Regions from separate parts of the Homo sapiens genome. Here all the other regions are linked to region 2. Evidence: promoter capture Hi-C in 16 types of primary human blood cells and fetal thymus (Javierre and others, 2016). All regions are on one chromosome and are shown on one strand. The core of a region is centred on a gene start or on the middle of the fragment in contact, and the rest is flanking DNA. Distances in the headings are between cores, read along the strand shown.

Region 1 (2,700 bases), core at 130-2,629, 3.3 Mb after region 2:
TCTCCTGCCTCAGCCTCCCGAGCAGCTGGGACTACAGTCACGTGCCACCATGCCCAGCTAATTTTTGTATTTTTAGTAGAGATGGGGTTTCGCCATATTGTCAAGGCTGGTCTTGAACTCCTGATCTCGTGATCCACCCGCCTTGGCCTCCCAAAGTGCTGGGATTATAGGCATGAGCCACTGCTCCCGGCCAATATGCTATACTTCTAATACTACTTACTATGTTTATTTTTTATTGTCTTTCTCCCCACCATATCTACTAACCTGTAGCTCCACAATGACAGATATTTTTGTTTTGTTCATTATTTAATAAATATTTGTTGAATGAAGACAGCTGTTCCCTGAGGTAGTCTGAATCCTAAATAATTGGTGCCATCTAGTGTTCTTGGAAGCACGTGTGAATTATCCCTGAGAGTCTTATTTGTATTAGCCATTGGATAAATAGTACTGGTATAATCAATTCTGCTACTCTGTTTTTCACTGCCCTCTATGGCTCTGAAAATATTAAAATGTTTTCAATGATTAAACAGGCACAGGACATATTAATTTCCCTAAAAGCATTTTTTTGAGACAGGGTCTCGCTATCACCAGGCTGGAGTACAGCGGCAAGATCACGGCTCACTGCAGCCTTGACCTCCTGGGCTTAAGCAATCCTCCCACCTCAGCCTCCCGAGTAACTGGGACTACAGGCATGTGCCACCACACCTGGCTAATTTTTAAATTTTTTGTAGAGACACGGTCTCACTATGTTGCACAGGTTAGTCTCAAATTCCTGGGCTCAAGCGATCCTCCCACCTCAGCCTCCCAAAATTTTGGGATTACAGCTGTGAGCCACCGCCCCCAGCCTATGAGCAATTTTTTCCCCAATGATTTGACTGTTCCTTCCAGAATTCCCATGTGGGGTAAGTGTCATGAAAATCTTTTAACTTTGGGGCACCTCTACCCACTCACCACCCGCCAAACAAAAAACAAAACAAAAAACAAAACAAAAACTCCTAAAAACCTCAAAATGGCAATAATCTTGGCTATTTTGGTAATTGTTTTGGTACACTTTTCCTCCAGAATTTCAAAGTACATATTTATTGATTTTGAAATTTTGGTTTTGGCCTCAAAAGCCCCCAAATCAAAGTGATAAAACATTAGCAAGAGTAACTAATGTTATTTAAAATAGCATCAGGATTCTCTAAGGTAATGAGCCCAATCTTCTGATTTAAAAAATATTAGTTTTTAAAAAAATATGATAGAGACAAAAAAGCTTCCTTAAATGTATTAAAATATTTTAATATTTAATAGTTGATAATGAAAAAGATAATTTTTACTGAATGCTTATTGCGCTAGGAGCTACTCTAAAAGCTCATTAATCATCTTAACAATACTATTAATGTAAGTTCTCTAGTATTAAGCTCCATTTTTCAGATGGCAGAATGGAGAAACAGAGAAGTTAAATAACCTTACTTAAGTCACAGAGCTACTAAACAGTGGAGCCAGAATTTAAATCACAGCCCAAGCTTATTAGCTCATAACCATGTTCTCATCTACCTCTCCACAGAAGGGCTATGATGCTATTTTGTGTTAAAGTTCTTGGCCTGCTCAGACAAATTAATTAATGTGTTCTTCTAAAAAGGAATCAAGGCAACCATAGATAAACAAAAGCATATACAATTTTCCTAGAAGTTTTTTTTTTTCTTTTTACCATCAAGAAAGTTGAAGCTGCAGAATTGTCCCACATTCTAAGGATGCTGTGGCAATGAGTAAAAGTGACATCAAGGTCAAGGTCAAAGGCAGAAGCTAGTTTGCAGTGGCACAATGAAGAACCAACCAGTTGGTCCTTAGTGCCCTCCCACCTCTTTTTGCAACCCATTCCTCAGAACTTTTTGTTTTACCCTCCAATTGTCCAAAGCTTCCCCCTACTCTGCTACTGGCTCTAATGTTTTAAAATAGATTAAATGACTGAAGTTCCCAAATTATCAATTTTCTTGAAATCTGCTCTTTCCTGAATCTGCTTTATCTCAGCTGGTATTAAGAAAATAATGAATTATCTGTTAAAGTTAGTCCTATTAAGGAGTGATTTACTAGGTAACAACCAGAATTTTTTGCATTATACATTACACTCTTTAAAAGGAGTATGAATTTCCCAGAATTTTAGATTGATGGAGTCTTTTAGAGAATATTTGTGAGTAGGTGGTTTCCAGCTCGTTAGCCTGGAAATCATGTCCTCACCATCCTTAGCTGGAATCTAGGATTCCTTTTCTAAATGTTTGCTTGACTCTTTATTTTTTGTTAATTTTTGTTTTAATTTAGACTGAGTCTCGCTTTGTCACCCAGGTTGGAGTGCAGTGGTGTGATTTCGGCTCACTGCAACCTCCGCCTCCCAAGTTCAAGCGATTCTCCTGCCTCAGCCTCCCGAGTAGCTGGGATAATAGGAACCTGCCACCACATCCAGCTAATTTTTGCAGAGACGGGGTTTCACTATGTTGCCCAGCCTGGTCTTGAACTCTTGACCTCAGGTGATCCACCCGCCTCGGCCTCCCGAAGTGCTGGGATTACAGGCATGAGCCACTGCACCAGGCCAATTTTTTAAAATTTTAATTTAATTTAATTTTTTTTTGTAGAGATGGTGTCTCTGTGTTGCCCAGGCTAGTCTCAAACTCCAGAGCTTAAGCAATCCTTCCACCTTGACCTCCCAAAGTGCTAGGATTA
Region 2 (2,700 bases), core at 15-2,514:
GAGGAGGTACTTGCTTGAGTGCCCAATACTGCCCTCTGCACAAGCCCATTCCATGCCATGCTCTGATACCTGTTGTCCTATCTCCAAGTGTGACCTCTCTCCTCCTAATCACCCCCCACAGAGTGGGAGAATCCTAGAGGGAAGGATCTGGCAAGGCCCTTACAGACCATCCAGTCAGCCTTCTCAACTAGACAGATGGAGAAACCAGGCCTGTGCAACAGTAATGGCCACTCTGGGCTTACGGTGTGCCAGGCACTGTCATACTAGTGATAACTAACTAGTAGCTGCCCTACTAGTTAGGTATTATCCTTAACCCATCTACCGGTAAGGAAGCTGGATCAGAGATGTCCTACATGAATTTCTGAGCAGTTTATGCCTCATTTCTTCTGTGAATTGTACACTGCCTGTGCCCGTTTTCCTACGTGAATGCTGTTTTAGTTACTGATCAGTAAGGTTTTGTGTATGTGTATACATCTAAGGTCCTCTGCCAGGCACGCTACTGCAAATAATTTTTTCTGGTTAGTTTAGTTTGGTCTAATAGTGTTGTTTTTGATACACAAGCTCTTAATATATATTTAGACAAATGTCCACCATTTCCTTGCTTTTAAGCTTGAAATGACTTCCATTATCTGAGATTTCCTTAACAAAGGAAAAAGCCTGGACCCCAAACTATCCCTTAACAAGCACAGGCTGACGCTCCCAGTGAGCCAGCCTGGTCCTAAACTCTATCTGCCACCATTTAACCCTCACGGCAACTTGCGAGGCGGCTGGTTATCACCGTGGTCGTTTTATGGTCGGGGAAGCTGAGGCCAGAGCCCGGGCAGGAGCGCACACAACCAGACGGTGGGGCGTGCGGGAGATCGGAGCGGTGTCCCTGCGGGGGCTCCGCCTGGCTCCTGGCGCTCCGCACCTCCCAGCCCTCGGCGTCCCGGCGCGCCACCACCCGGAAAAGAACGACCGCTTCCGCACTCCCCCCACCAGGGGCTGGGGCCTGCAAGGGGGACTCGAAGCCTCCCGCCGCCTCCCGCCCCTTGCCTGGCAGCGGAGGACCCAAGCAAGGGCAAAGAGTTCCAACCCAGCCAGAGCCGCACCTCTTGCAGCGACTCCGGCACCAGCGCGGGCACGATGGGCCGCTTCACGCCGCGCTGCTCCTTCTCCTTCTCGCCGCCCTTCTCCTTTCCGTTCTCCGTATCACCCTTCTCAGCCTGGGTCATTATGGCCGGAGACACCCACCAACCTCTCGCCTCAGCGCTGCAGCCACGACTGCCGGGATGGAAGGGCCACCGCGCAGGCGCACGGCCGGCTGCCCACAGTCAAGATGGCCGCCGCGGAGTCGCCCCAGAGGGCTCCGAAAAGGCGGGGGTGGGGCTGCCCGGCGCAGGGGCTGGGGGCGGGGTGTGCATGCGGATTGATTGGGTGGGTGTTGCTGTGATTAGTCCTGACTGTGTAGATGCCAGCAACATAGTACACATAGCTTTTCGAGCGCCTAGTGGGGGTCGGCTGATAACCCGCATCTTATTTCGTCCTCACAGGCATCTCTTCTCCTGGCTTCCCAGATACCATATGTACTCTTAGTTTTTCTCATATGTCTTCATGTTCAGTCCAGCCTCTGATGTTGGGGTTAGGTCTTTTCCAGGCACACTCCTTGGGTGACTATCCAGTTTCCTGGCTTTAGCAATGAATACGATTCCCAAATATATATATCCAGGATGAACCGCTCAGAGAGATCCGTACTGATAACCAGTGCCTACTTGGTCTCTCCATCTGGATTGTCTACAAGGCACTGCAAACTTAAATATGTCCAAAATTTAACTCTTGATTCCCTCCCCTCTCACTTTCACCATCTCAGTAAATGTCATTTTGATTCTTCACTTGTTGACAGCTTCTACATCCAATCCATCAGTAAATCCTGCAGTCTCTAAAATAGATCTTGAATTCATCCACTTCTCCATTCCCATGCCACTACCTAGCCCAAGCCACTATCATCTCACCTGGATGACTACAACAGCCTCTTAACTCGAACTCCTTGTCCTGTCCCCCTATGATCTGTTCTTATATAGTTGCCCACGTTGTTTTAAAATATTACGTAGTTAATACTACTATGTACCCAGCACTCCACTAAGACTTACCTCAAAAATTAGATGTCACTCATGCTTTAAACTCTAATGGTTTCCCTTTGCTCAAAGAACAGAATCTAAACTAACCACCACCTAAAGACCATATCTAGTTATTGCTACATTTCTAAGTTCACCTCACAACACTCTCCCCATTCCTTGGCATTTCCAGCTACACCTGTTTTATCTTTCTCAGACATGCCAAGCCCTTCCCGTCATCGGGCTGTTGCACTTGCTGTTCATTTTGCCTTGGATGCTCTTCCCTCAGCTGTCTCATTCTCACGTCTGAACTCAAATGTCACCTCAGGCCTTCCGCAGTTATTCTCTCATCATCCTATTCCCTTTGAAGCATGAAGCATTAGTCTGTAATTATCATGCCTGCTCACTGTCTCCCACACTAGAATGTAAGCTCCGTGAGACTTTGCCAGTTATCTTCAGCACATGGTAGGTGCCCAATAAGCATGTGATGACTAAATACTAAATAAAGAACTCTTGGAGGTAAAAATTTAATCCCCGTTTTACAGGTGAGTGAAGTGGGATAAAATGGCATAATTCACTCAAGATCATAAGCTATTGAGTAGCAAAG
Region 3 (2,700 bases), core at 90-2,589, 3.7 Mb after region 2:
TCTCATCCGCACTGTCTCTTACAACATCCTGGCAGACACGTACGCGCAGACTGAGTTCTCGCGAACGGTTCTGTACCCATACTGTGCCCCCTACGCCCTGGAGCTCGACTACCGCCAGAACCTTATCCAGAAGGAACTCACCGGCTACAACGCCGATGTCATCTGTTTGCAGGAGGTTGACCGCGCAGTGTTTTCTGACAGCTTGGTACCCGCCCTAGAGGCCTTCGGGCTCGAGGGGGTGTTTCGAATCAAGCAGCACGAAGGCCTGGCCACTTTCTACCGAAAGTCTAAGTTCAGCCTTCTTAGCCAGCATGACATTTCATTCTACGAAGCCCTCGAGTCCGACCCACTTCACAAAGAACTGCTGGAGAAACTAGTTTTGTACCCATCAGCGCAGGAGAAGGTGCTCCAGAGATCTTCTGTTCTTCAGGTAAAGTAGTTCCGCCCGTCTCTTCACATACTGTCCCACTTTTAGGGGCCAGGAAGGCGAGGAATGAGGTGGGGGTTAAAAGTGCGATGAAAGTATCCAGATATTGTTGAAAGGTGTGTTTGCCCTTGTATCTTCAGCACAAAGTTTACTCTTCATTCATTCAGCAGATATTTTTTGAACACCTCTGGTGTGCCTGCCATACTGCAGGTTGCCTTGAACAAGACTAGCAGGGACTTTTACAGTGCTTACAATCTAGCGAGAGGGACACACGCTAAATGCAAGAACAATAGTAGCTAATGTTTTTTACTACTTGCCAAGCACTGTTCTGGCACATTTTAAAGTACTTAAAATTTAAGAGCGTGGTGTGTTTTGAAGTGCTCCATAAATATAAACTAGTTTTTTTTAAATCATAGGCTCATTGAATCTTCACAGTAAGTCCCCTATTCCCATTTTATAGATGTCATTCTTGTGTTAAAGTTTTTAAGTAATTGATTTTGTTCATAATAAGAAGAGCAGCTACCATTTTTTAAGTACCTAAGGTGTTTCATGCACCTTATAAGATCATTTAATTGACTCCACACAACAGCCCATGAGGTGGATGGTATTGTCAGTGACTGCCAGTACGAAACTGGCTAGAAAAGCATCTTTTTGCAGGTCACATTGCTATAAATGGTGAAATGAGTATTCAAACCCAGGTCTGCCTGACTCCAAAGCCTGTGCTTACGCTTGAAAACACTTTCTCCAGTCAAAGTGTTGTCATGTAAAATGTATTGTTTATATTACTAGCTTTATATATTGGACTATTATTATTATTATTATTATTTTGAGACGGAGTCTCTGTCACCTAGGCTGGAGTACGGTGGCGCGATATCGGCTCACCGCAACTTCCGCCTCCCGGGTTCAAGCGATTCTCCTGCCTCAGCCTCCCTAGTAGCTGGGACTAGAGGCGCGTGCCACCACGCCCGGCTAATTTTTTTAGTAGAGACGGGGTTTGGGGTTTCACCATGTTAGCCAGGATGGTCTCGATCTCCTGACCTCGTGATCCGCCCGCCTCAGCCTCCCAAAGTGCTGGGATTACAGGCGTGAGCCACCACGCCCGGCCTATATTGGACTATTATTAAAACATGTTACACTGAACCTAGTCATGTAGATCCTGAAACTTTAAGTTGGATTTCATGACTGCAGTCCTAGTTCATCAAGGGAAGGAGATGGAAGAAAACGTTAGTTCGCCATTAGTCTTAGATAAAAAACAGGCCGGGCCTGGTGGCTTATGCCTGTAATCCCAGCACTTTGGGAGGCCGAGGCGGGTGGATCACAAGTCAGGAAATCGAGACCATCCTGGCTAACACGATGAAACCCCGTCTCTACTACAAATACAAAAAAATTAGCCGGGCGTGGTGGCACGCGCCTGTAGTCCCAGCTACTCCGGAGGCAGAGGCAGGGGAATCGCTTGAACCCGGGAGGCGGAGCTTGCAGTGAGCCGAGATCGCGCTACTGCACTCCAGCCTGGTTGACAGAGTGAGACTGTCTCGAAAAAACTCAAAAAAACAAACAAACAAACAAAAACATTCAGGAGATTTGCAAATGCCAACTGAACTCTTGGCACTTTCCGTTTATTTTAGGTTTCAGTTCTTCAGTCTACAAAGGACTCTTCTAAAAGGATATGTGTTGCTAATACCCATCTTTACTGGCATCCTAAAGGTAGGTTTTATTTGGTATCACAAGTGACTTAAACACGCTTAAAGTTGTTTAAAGTGTTTTACACAAATGCATATCTTGAACGTCACCCAGAGACTGTAATTTGTGTAGTTTTTCTTTTTTAACTTAAAGACAACTTTAAAAAATACTTACATTAATGTTTTTTATATTCATAGGTGGGTATATTCGCCTCATTCAAATGGCAGTAGCCTTGGCTCACATAAGACATGTTTCATGTGATCTGTATCCTGGCATACCAGTTATATTTTGTGGGGACTTTAATAGTACACCATCAACAGGAATGTATCATTTTGTCATCAATGGCAGCATTCCAGAGGATCATGAAGACTGGGCTTCCAATGGGGAGGAGGAAAGATGCAATATGTCTCTTACACATTTCTTCAAGCTGAAAAGTGCTTGTGGTGAACCTGCTTACACAAATTATGTTGGTGGCTTTCATGGATGTCTAGATTACATTTTCATTGACTTAAATGCTTTAGAGGTTGAACAGGTGATTCCATTACCTAGTCATGAAGAAGTTACCACCCACCAGGCCTTACCTAGTGTTTCCC
Region 4 (2,700 bases), core at 201-2,700, 3.7 Mb after region 2:
ACAGAGATATAAAAGATCATTGTTCTTGGCTTATCATGGGCATTTATTTAGCAAATATGTCTCCTCCTTTCCATATTTCAAAAGCTACTCCTTTTTAGAACCAAACCTTCCATTTTTTTGTTTCTTCTTTTTTTCAAAAAAGAGGCAAGGTCTCCTTTTGTCCCCCAGGCTGGAGTACAGAGGCGCAACTGTAGCTCACTTCAGCCTCCAACTCCTGTGCTCAGGTGATCCTCCCACCTCAGCCTCTCAAGTAGCTGGGACTACAGGAGTATGCCACCATGCCCAGGTAATTTTTTTTTAATTTTTTTTTGTAGAGACAGGGTTTCACTCTGTTGCCTGGACTGGCCTCAAGTGATCCTCGTATCATGGCCTCCCAAAGTGTTGGTGTTTCAGGCATAAGCCATAGCACCCGGTCCTGAAACCTACCCTTTACAAGAGGTAATGCCCCTAAAAGGGACCTAATTTTATTTTGACTGCTAACTTCCCATTTTTATTCTTTTTTTTTTTTTTTAAATGTAAAGACAGGGTCTCACTATGTTCCCCAGGCTGGCCTCAAACTCCTGAGCTCAAGCGATCCTCCCACCTCAGCCTCCCAAAGTGCTGAGAGTACAGGCATAAGCCACTGCACCCAGCCTTTGTTTTAAAATGCAAATAATGCTATCAGTCCCAAAGTGACATTATTGAGAAGGAGAATTATTTTAGGTATTAATCCCTAATTATTTTCTTCCTGGAACAGCCTAGAATCAAGAGTGAAGAAAAGCTAGGATTCTACAGATAAGCCCAGCTGCTATGAAATTATTTGAAAAGCCAAATATTTACTTATTTACAATGGCAAATTAGTTGGAATTATAAGAGGAATTTACTACACACTGTGCCATGGTTTGTTAGTATAAGTTAGAAACATGGTTAAAGCTATAGTTTCTTTTAAATTTTATAGCTAGGAGAACTGATCAGTAATGCTGGGAATGCAAGCTAAGAGCTTAGCTTTGATTCTATCAGGTAACACATAAAGCTTTCCCCAGCTAGCATGAACTCCCTAGGAAGCAGTACTTAGACTTTTAATTCTCAGATGGTCCAAAGAGGCCAGAATTGGGTCTAATTTCAAATTAAGAATGCAAAGTAAATTACAAAGCATTCTAAACAAATCTAGGGATAAACCCAGGGTTACCCTTGGTCAAGAATTATTAGGCTTAAGGATTAGCAAGGTTTTACTTCATATCTAACTCTTTCAAAATATATTGGCCAAGCGCAGTAGCTCATGCCTGTAATCCCAGCACTTTGGGAAGCCCAGGCAGGTGGATCACATGAGGTCAGGAGATCGAGACCAGCCTGGCTAACATGGTGAAACCCCGTCTCTACTAAAAATACAAAATTAGCCAGGTGTGGTGGCGCATGCCTGAAGTCCCAGCTACTTGGGAGGCTGAGGCAGGAGAATCGCTTGAACCCAGGAGGCAGAGGTTGCAGTGAGCCAAGATTGCGCCATAGCCTGGGTGACAGGACGAGAACTCCATCTCAAAAAAAATAAACAAACTGTCTAGAGGGTAGAGCACATTAGAGATGAGTATGAAACAACACAGCACTGCTTATATCCTAGTAACTGAAGCTGCATAATACATACATGTGAGTTTATTATGCTATTCTATTTGTAGGTGTACAGATTGAGTTTCCTTAATCCAAAAATCCAAATCCAAAACTTCCCGAGCACCAACATAACAAAGAAAAAACTCCCTGGAGTATATCGGATTTTGGATTTCTGGATTTAGAATGCTCAACTGGGTACAATGCAAATATTCCAAAACCCCCAAAATTCTGAGATCAGAAACAGTGGTTTCTGGTCCCAAGAATTTCGGATAAGGAATGTTCACCTTGTATTTAACATTTTCCATAAGGAAGCTTTTTAAAGCATGTGCCTCTGTATCAAGTATCTTTTCTAGTCACAGCTATATTGATGACCATAAACATTCTACTATTTTTTTTTTTTTGAGACAGAGTCTCGCTTTGTCACCCATGCTGGAGTGCAATGGTGTGATCTCGGCTCATCACAACCTCCACCTCCCGGGTTCAAGTGATTCTCCTGCCTCAGCCTCCTGAGTAGCTGGGATCACAGGTGCGCGCCACCACGCCCGGCTAATTTTTGTATTTTTAGTAAAGACGGGGTTTCACTGTGTTGGTCAGGCTGGTCTTGAACTCCTGACCTCGTGATCCGCCCGCCTCAGCCTCCCAAAGTGCTGGGATCACAGGCATGAGCCACCGTGCCTGGCCTAAACATTCTCGTTTTTAAATAAAAAAGTATACCACTTATTTAATATGACATACTATGTAAACCTGGTTGTCCCAGCCACTCACCTAGGGTATTCACTGCCACCTGATGGCAATAAACCCCACTTGTATGCAATGTTTTAAGAGGCTGATAACAAGATGACATTGCAAGTCTTAAAAATATAAAGTGGCAGTGATATCACACTTAAAAAAAATTATTAAGTAATAAAAAAAAACTGACAAGAAATTCCTTGGGTGGTAGAAAACACAATCGAGGTGGGACCAGGTTAAACAAAGGTAGAGTGAGAACAAACTCTCCCATCTTGGGTAAGTCATTCCAAGTTTCAGTTTCCTCATATGTAAGAGAGTTAGATTAGAACAGTGGTTCTCAGCAGGGAGCAATTTTGCCCCCAGGGGATATTTTGCAGGTGTGGAGAGATT

Evidence for each region. The method cuts DNA at HindIII sites, captures the fragments that hold promoters and counts their contacts. A CHiCAGO score of 5 or more calls a contact.
Region 1: a fragment that was not itself captured here is called in contact with the fragment with the promoter of ACTR8 in region 2 in 1 of 17 cell types (non-activated CD4 T cells); the score reaches 7.2 in non-activated CD4 T cells.
Region 3: a contact is called between a fragment that was not itself captured here and the fragment with the promoter of ACTR8 in region 2, in 3 of 17 cell types (fetal thymus, activated CD4 T cells and non-activated CD4 T cells). The highest score is 7.4, in fetal thymus.
Region 4: a fragment that was not itself captured here is called in contact with the fragment with the promoter of ACTR8 in region 2 in 1 of 17 cell types (non-activated CD4 T cells); the score reaches 7.0 in non-activated CD4 T cells.

The regions. Positions count from the first base shown.
Region 1 is chr3:57,221,713-57,224,412 of GRCh38, forward strand. It overlaps a transcript of HESX1 not described here. Among named protein-coding and RNA genes, the nearest start is that of APPL1, 4.7 kb to the right of the region's middle. The HindIII fragment of the contact is 253 bases long and covers 1,254-1,506 here.
Region 2 is chr3:53,880,888-53,883,587 of GRCh38, forward strand. It overlaps ACTR8 (actin related protein 8), which reads right to left and starts at 1,265. Exons shown (of 13, transcript NM_022899.5): 1 at 1,092-1,265. The coding sequence starts at 1,214. RefSeq lists silencers at 892-1,001, 1,392-1,481 and an enhancer at 1,152-1,231. The HindIII fragment of the contact is 9,111 bases long and covers 608-2,700 here.
Region 3 is chr3:57,557,258-57,559,957 of GRCh38, forward strand. It overlaps PDE12 (phosphodiesterase 12), which reads left to right. Exons shown (of 3, transcript NM_177966.7): 1 at 1-430; 2 at 2,053-2,131; 3 at 2,305-2,700. Among named protein-coding and RNA genes, the nearest start is that of PDE12, 2.3 kb to the left of the region's middle. RefSeq lists an enhancer at 847-1,479. The HindIII fragment of the contact is 2,956 bases long and covers 1-2,700 here.
Region 4 is chr3:57,580,279-57,582,978 of GRCh38, forward strand. The region is part of intron 3 of ARF4 (ARF GTPase 4); the gene reads right to left. It also overlaps a transcript of PDE12 not described here. Among named protein-coding and RNA genes, the nearest start is that of ARF4, 16 kb to the right of the region's middle. The HindIII fragment of the contact is 881 bases long and covers 1,011-1,891 here.